3 separate regions of the Homo sapiens genome follow, and regions 2 and 3 are each linked to region 1. The links are contacts of gene promoters, found by promoter capture Hi-C in blood cells and fetal thymus (Javierre and others, 2016). All regions are on one chromosome and are shown on one strand. Each heading gives the region's core, a stretch centred on a gene start or on the middle of the fragment in contact. The rest is flanking DNA. Distances are from core to core; before and after follow the strand shown. Region 1 holds the start of CACNA2D1-AS1 (CACNA2D1 antisense RNA 1). Region 2 overlaps LOC105369146 (a long non-coding RNA gene). Region 3 overlaps LOC105369146 (a long non-coding RNA gene).

Evidence for each region. Contacts are between HindIII fragments. The CHiCAGO score rates a contact against its expected background, and 5 or more counts as called.
Region 2: a contact is called between a fragment that was not itself captured here and the fragment with the promoter of CACNA2D1-AS1 in region 1, in 2 of 17 cell types (erythroblasts and M2 macrophages). The highest score is 5.3, in erythroblasts.
Region 3: a fragment that was not itself captured here is called in contact with the fragment with the promoter of CACNA2D1-AS1 in region 1 in 4 of 17 cell types (M2 macrophages, M1 macrophages, megakaryocytes and 1 more); the score reaches 7.4 in M2 macrophages.

Annotation. Positions count from the first base shown.
Region 1 is chr7:82,007,915-82,010,614 of GRCh38, forward strand. It overlaps CACNA2D1-AS1 (CACNA2D1 antisense RNA 1), which reads left to right and starts at 1,263. Exons shown (of 4, transcript NR_110077.1): 1 at 1,263-1,348. The region is part of intron 15 of CACNA2D1 (calcium voltage-gated channel auxiliary subunit alpha2delta 1); the gene reads right to left. The HindIII fragment of the contact is 1,784 bases long and covers 992-2,700 here.
Region 2 is chr7:81,545,828-81,548,527 of GRCh38, forward strand. All of the region lies in intron 3 of LOC105369146 (a long non-coding RNA gene), which reads right to left. Among named protein-coding and RNA genes, the nearest start is that of HGF, 220 kb to the right of the region's middle. The HindIII fragment of the contact is 1,709 bases long and covers 445-2,153 here.
Region 3 is chr7:81,518,893-81,521,592 of GRCh38, forward strand. All of the region lies in intron 4 of LOC105369146 (a long non-coding RNA gene), which reads right to left. Among named protein-coding and RNA genes, the nearest start is that of HGF, 250 kb to the right of the region's middle. The HindIII fragment of the contact is 1,915 bases long and covers 369-2,283 here.

The sequences.
Region 1 (2,700 bases), core at 13-2,512:
TAAAATATCAAGGAAAATATCTTGGAAATAATTAGGACCTACTAGGCACCTACTGAAGCATGCAACATTTAAAATAATCCTCTAAGATAACTTCAAAAATAATCAGCTTACACAAATAGTCAACAGCCTGTATGCATTTCAGTAACCCTGTGTCCTCCCCCTTTTTCATAGTGATAGTTCACCTAATATCAGGGCCTCCATAAGCAGAGTGATAATAAAATATTATTTTAAGTGATTATTTAGCTTCCCTTTTTGTAGCCTTATTCTTTATTTTTTATGCCCTAAGCCAAAGACTTCATGCTAAATGAAAAATGTGCAGTTGAATAACATGATAAATAAAAGAAACATTCTATTGATACTGCATATCTGGGATATTCTAAGTAAATGTTACGCTCTTCAGAAGCAGTACTACTTTTCTAAGTAGACCCCAAAATAAGCAGTACTTTTTGACAAGTAAAATTATGAAGAAAAGACAACTGCAAGCATCAAATATAAAAGTCTAGTCTGAAGAGTTTAACATAGTAGAACTAATGCCATCCTATTAATCAGCACATAATTTAATACATTAAATGAATCCATACAGATTAGTCAAAATAAACTGATTTTCAAGTCAGAGTTTGCTTTTGTTACTGACATCTATATCCATTATAATTTTAACCATTTCATGTCAAAACTACATTTAACAAAATCACTCTTTAAAATAATTTTTATTGTTTGAAATTTTGAATTTGCTAAATGAGAAATTATTATTAATCTTCTCACGAATAGTGATTCCAAATCCAAATCTCAAGAACTCAGAACAGAGTTCTGGAATCAGAACCGAGTTCATAAAGTTGGATTTGGAATAATTATTCACTAGAACATTAAAAATATTTATTAATATCAGGGAGCAAATGTTGTGGTATCAGGTTGTGGTTCATAATTGTGCACATAGGAGGCCCAAATTCAATGGGAATATGAATGAATTAGGGAGGAGAGACAATAATAGAGAAGCTTCCAGAAGACCAAAATACCAAATTATTTGCAGCAAATAAAACTAAGGAAACAACCATACATATTTGGGTGCATGATGATTGATATGGTTTGGCTGTGTTCCCACACAAATCTCATCTTCAGTTGTAGTTCCCATAATCCCCACGTGTTGTGGGAGAGATCCAGAGGTAATTGAACCATGGTACGGTTTCCCCCATGTTATTCTCGTGATAGTGAGTAATTTCTCACGAGGTCTGATGGTTTTTAAGTGGCTTTCCCCTTCGCTCAACACTTATTCTCTCTCCTGCTGCCTGGCGAAGAGATGCTTTCCGCCATGATTTTAAGTTTCCTGAGGCCTCCCCAGCCACATGGAACTGTGAGTCAATTAAACCTTTTTTCTTTATAAAGTACTCAGTCTTGGGGATTTCTTCACAGCAGTGTGAGAACAGACTCATACAGTGATAGACACATGTTGGCGCTTATAAAGTCCTAACCAAGAACATTAGACAATGAAACATCCTTAATTATATAAATTAATGCTTCCAATGAAAACCTCCCACCTCAATAAAGTCAGGCTATAGATTAATTCGTAAAACTGGTATCCAAAAGATAATTTAGTAAGGATTTGGTGAAGTGTCTGTTAGAGCTATAATCTATATGCATGGTTTTAAAAATGCTACCATGGTTTAAGACAAGGTAGATATGGATGTAATCATTTCCTTTGCATTACTTTTGCATTTATACTGCATACCATAATTTGCTTCTAAAAATGGTAAAATGTAGCCTAAAGTGAGTTACTAGATTACTAACATATTAAAGATAATTATGAATGAACTCATTTGGGCCCAACTTGAATTTTTTTCTCATTTACTAAGCAGACCAAAAACTTGTACTCTACTCCTGAGTACTGCACATGTCTCTAGAAAATAAGAGAGAAATAAAACAAGATTTCTCTACCCTGGAATTTTAAAAATATTTTCTAGAGCCCAACTCTTGTCATATCTCTTTTTATAAAGAGCTTCACTTTGTCTCCTAATTAAAATGAACTCTCCACAATATTGTCCTAATCTCCCCTTATTACCAAAAATGACCAAGGTATCATTTTTTTGATATACTCAGTGCTTCCCCAACTTTTATGCTATACCCCATTTTTATGGTTTCACTTTTCACCACCAATTGCAAAAATCTTACACTAATATCAGCTAAAATGTCTCCATTTTCTTAACCACAACCCACTTTGCCCCCAATATTGGCTTCATTTTGAAGTCAGAATTCTTTTTCTCATTATATCCATTATATTTCGTTTTGAAATATATTTACCTTTTCCTTTTTAATATAACTGTTTATTTTTGACCAACATATATTTTTAATCTGCTGTGTGGAGAGATTATAAACAAATAACTAGGAATATATGAGGATCACTTTATCATCTTCAAAACAGTAAAAATAACGCTATATGTGTCCAATGAATAGCAAATTCACGTGTTCCTTTTTTTTTTTTTTTTACATTCAGTTTCAGCTTATAGCACAGCACATTTAGAACCAACATTTCCTCCTAATGTCATTTGTGCTATCAGTAAGAACCTTACCAGCAATGCAGACATGCTGGCTAATGAACTTCCAGTCAAAGGAAACACAACAGGGCATAATTATTGACTCCTCCTATCATACACTGTCCTGTGATGGATTTGAAAAGTGCAACATTTTGACCACAGCTTTGGATCACTA
Region 2 (2,700 bases), core at 49-2,548, 460 kb before region 1:
GCAAAAGAACAACAATTTTCATCACTTTCTTCTCCAGCTATGGAAATGTTTCTAGTTTATTCATTTATGGAACACTTGTATAGTGCTTATTACTATGAGCCACTCAGTACTTTACAAATATTTGCTTTTAAAAACCTCATGTCTACCTTCAGGGGTAGGCACTACTATTATCACCATTTTACAATGAGGAATCAAGTTAAGAAAGGTTCAATAACTTGCCCAGCTTCACAAAAAACCTTAAGTGGTGAACCTGGGATTCTTAGCCAAGCATTCTGGCTGAAGAATCTCTGCTCTAAACATCATGCAGTGGTATAAAAGAAATTTGGCAACATCATTGTCACTAAATACATGTGCATATAGTTAATGGCTCTAGCGGTTAGTAGGCATCCAGGTTAAAGATGAATAGATTCAGTATCCATTTATTTTTATTTTTTTGGCATGAAAAGCTTTCCAAGAGAAAAATAGCCACAGACAGACATTCAGCTCTTGGTAATGCCTTCATGCTTCAGATGGTCATTTCTGAATTTTCTAACATCTCTCTGTTAGAAAGCAAAATTCTTAAAATTTCTTTTCCAAAGAGGCAATTTTCTTATAAAACTAGATAAATTTAATGGGGTTGTTGCCATGTACTTTCAGACTAGTTCCTTAAAACAGCAGTCAGTTTTAAGAATTTGACTATTCATAAACACATTCAAAGAAAGACAAACATTAATTTATATCATTGACTCTATTAGTATTTTTAGAGGTAAAAGAAATAGCTTATATTTTTACATGTCCAGTTTAAAGCACTATACTCCTTTTAGTGTTTACAAATAAAGGGCATGTGTTTGGTAACAGTTTCTTTAAAAGAATCACTGAAGTGACAGTGATTATTTAGAAAATATGCTCTAAGAAAATTTATCATGCTCTTTGCAGGAGACAAAAGAGCCTTCCATTTTTTTTAATCCAAATTCTTGTCAGCAAGTACATGATGGGGTAATAGACAATATATGATTATGCTACTTTTTTATATATCAGTAAAGATATTCTTAATTTTTCTTCAGATCTAGGCAGGAGCATTATCGGTGAATATTGATTTACTTACCTTGTGTGTTACAGATACAAAAATTTTGTCTTTGATTAGATAAATGTACATTTCCTTGCAGTTATTTTCTTTGTTTCACAAGAAAGGCCTCCTTCTATGTGCTTTTCCTAATTTACATAAGGTACAACACTGATAGCCAAGAGAAGCCACCAAGGTCACACCCATTTAAAAGGACAAGTTTTTATAACTTTGTAAAAACTTGTTTCAGGTATCAGGACTCAACTCACAAATTATGATTTGATAAGAAAATCTGTTGAAACTTCTTCAGCTCATCTGGTCTCAGAACTATTTTTCAATTTTCCAATAAATTGTTTTTCTCACTTTTTACAAATAACGTGAGGCTCCTTGTCTTGTAACAATGCAACTTGGTTGGATGCTTCTAGTAACAAGTTCTCAACCGACACAATACTAAATGACCTACAGCTTATTTTATTACAATAAATAGTGCCCTTGTAAATATCAGGACCACATTTAATTTTCACTAATGAGCACTTTGTTGAAATATTCAGAATGCCTTGGTGATTTGAAACTAGGTACAATGTAAACATTGTAGTCACTAATTTCTAATCATTGTCATTGCAAAAATGATCTATAAAAAGTTATTTTTTCATATTTCTTTTACAAAAGGTATACTCAAATATGCCAATACTACCTAGAGCTTCTGTGCAGATTTATTGTGAAGTAAACACCATAACATATGTTAATAATTAGCATCTCAATAACAATTAGCAGCTCACTAATATAAAATAAAGCCACAACACTGTCATATTATCATCTGTACTGAAGTCAGAAATAAATCTCACAACAGGAGGAAGTAAACAATACCTGTTCACGAAGTCAACTTACAAAAGTACACTAGCCTGTGCATTGTACCCAGGTTCAAAGCCACTTCTCCCCAGTCATTTCGGGTTACAGCCAGTGAAATGGGTGTGAAATAGCTGTGCATTGGTCTGTAAGTTATGGCTGTTTTCTAAGAGTTCGTAATTTTAGATTCTGAGCCCATTTTCTGCCAAATTTTTTTCTTCAGGAATTTTCTGCTGCTTAGGTGGATGTTAGGCCTCTCTAGGGAAGCTTTGCTTTTGTTTCTGCCAGGAATTCCTCACAATAAAACACCAAGACCCCTTTCCTTTTAACGTCTTGTCTGGGTTTTCCAATAATTTGCAGTGTGCATAATTCAAACCCAATATATTTCCTTTACATTTTGGAGGACGCGTTTTCCCCTTAATTCAGAGCCTAGGCCTAGATGGGCAAACTTTCTTATTGTCTACTCCAGGCTAGCGTGTGAAGGTGTCCTTTCCAAGTTTTCATCCTGAAGGACCTCTTATTTTATGAGGTTCCAACTGCCTGCCCTTATTGCTCCCAAAGTTTTACTTCCTGTTTCCAAGTGGCTGTGAAACCTAAACCTCTTCTTTACAGAGAAGATGCTCTCAGGGCACTTGGCATCATTGAGGAGCCTCTGTTTTTGGCCCCTGAAATATCCCCTAATTTTTTTTGAGGTCACATTTCCACATTAAAGGCTAGTTATATTCTATCATACATTTCCAGGTGTTTTGTGCCAGGAAATTCTTTGGAATATTTACCTTCTAGGTGAAAATGGAAATAAATTGTAAATCGTG
Region 3 (2,700 bases), core at 76-2,575, 490 kb before region 1:
CATTCCTTCACCTTTTCCTCTCTCCTGAAGTATTCATTTGTGAAATAAAGCAGATATACTGAACTACTAATACTACTGATTGGAATATGCAGCAGGTCTTCCATGAACAATATATTATAAGACAATATATTATTTAAATTTCAATTGTCTCACACTAAAAAGTCATAGAATAGCACTTATGACCTCTAATGGCTTGATTATGGGGGTTCTAGCGTAGTATCATCACTGTAAGCATAGTGTCAATTTATAAAGAAGCAATGAGAATTGTTTAAGAACAAGCACTTTATGGTTATAAGAACAAGAATTATTAAATGGGAAGAGCATGAGTTAGTTAATTGAATTGAAATTATCCATGGATTTTCTTATGAAGCTTGTTACCTTTAAAACTGAATCCATATCAATACTATGCAGCCATAAAGAAGAATGAGTTCATGTCCTTTGCAGGAACATGGTTGAAGCTGGAAGCATCATTCTCAGCAAACTAACATAGGAACAGAAAACCAAACACCGCACATTCTCACTCATAAGTGGAAGTTGAACAATGAGAACACATGGACACAGGGAGGGCAACATCACACGCCCGAGCCTGTTGGGGGTTGGGGGGGCTAGGGGAGCGAGAGCATTGAGACAAATACCTAATGCATGCAGGGTTTAAAATCTAGATGACGAGTGGATAGGTGCAGCAAACCACCCTGGCACATGTATACCTATGTAACAAATCTGCATGTTCTGCACATGTATCCCAGATCTTAAAGTAAAATTTTTTAAAAAAGGGAATCCATATCTTTAATGAGGAATCAACAAGCCTAAAGAGAGTAAGCATTATTAAAAAGGATAAAGTAGAAGGACAATATCCTTAGTGAGTATAATAATATTCGTTATCCAGAAATTGTCAAAAGACTTTCAAAAATATTTATATGATTATTTATGGCTTTTATTTATTGGTGGCTTCCAAGTTCATCTCTTGACCTAATTTTCTAGACCTGTAATTTTTCAACAATCTTTTTGCCATCTCCTCTATATTTTTGGACTCTGAGAACATGTTGGAAGGAAGAATTATTCCTTCTCCAATATCATTATGACTACCCTTTAAGCTAGTTCTTAACATTAAGCACTAGGAGACTCTGCCAGTCTTGAATCCTCAGTTCCCATTTCTGAGGTGCTGTTTCTATGACATGGGCTTTAATATATTATGCCAATGTTGCTTGCCAGAATTAATCTTGGCAAAAGACCATGATTTCTCTAACTGAATCTCCAGTTACAACACAATATAGCACATCCACGTTTCTAAATGTTCCCAATTAAAATATTAGAACTATTGGTCTGTGGAAAATTGTTTGATACAAATCTACAAGAGAGAGAGAAAGTTTTTAGCTATTTATAACCTTTAAATAATTGGAATTATTAAACTTCTGGAATGCTCATACTCTAAAATTTTGTTACATTTATTTATTAAATAAATTTCAATAACTAAAACAAACAGCCAATTTATCTGGGATATTTTTAAAAACTGTTCCCTATTAAAGAGACATAAATTAAGTTGGAATTATCTTTAATAAGAAAAAGATTTTAATTTCTGTATTGTTATATACTTAGCTAATATATTATACATTTTTAAATATTTATTAAAGAAACCAAAGCTATCTATATTTTATTTTTAATACATGATCTCAATATAGAAATTATAATTTTAATATTATTTCTTATTATTTTCTTCTTGCATTCTGGAGATAGGATAGATTTTTTAAGTGTAAAATTTGTGTCAATTATTAGAATACAAATAAGATAAACTTCTGGACAATTTGGACAGCTAAGAGCCATTTCCTTAATATAAATTTCAGTTAAATGAATTATTTTACATGAACGCTTAGTAGAGTTGAGCCAATTTTTAAATAATAACATGCCAAGCGAAAATGGACACTATATACTGTTTGCTATTACCTGAAGGAGGGTAGTAGTCATAAAATTATGAAGCTGAGAACTCACTCTGCAAGAGGAAAGTAAGAGCCTGAGTACTTGTAAATAAGGCATTCTCTTGCAGAAATGTTTAGAGAAAGTGTGAAATTTTTATATTTCTTTTAACATGATAGACAGTTATTTGTATGAATATTCAATGCCTATTGGGGGTTCATGGACAGACAAACAGGTTTATATATTACCCTTAGTGTTTTAAAATTTTGGCTCTCATAGATTAACAGACTAAATGGTGATAATTTTGGCAAAACTCTTTGAATGTAATATTCTATAAATTATATTACATATAAGTTGGTGACAAGTTCATGAAGCTTTTATTTTGGTCTCTACCTATATATTTACCAACTATAAAAAACAAAATGGAATTCTGAATTTCCCAAATCAGGTAAAATTAGTAAATTTTTCAGTTCATAAAATAATCAACTCTATTAAAGAATCTCACTGTATTTCATGTTATTTTTAACTATATTTGACACCAAATCTCTCAAGAACAAACCCATCTTCAAATGTGAAGAATACTTACTATATATTATAAAGATTACAAACACCATCACTTTTAAATTTATACAATACTAATTTAACATAAAATGATTCTTTACATTTTTGTTAACATAAACTAGTTTGCTTTTATTCTTGTTGAAATTAGTACTTAACCTGGGCAACTTCTATTATTTACAGTGATATAATGTTTTAGTTTTAACTAGAACTTTAATAATCAACATTAGA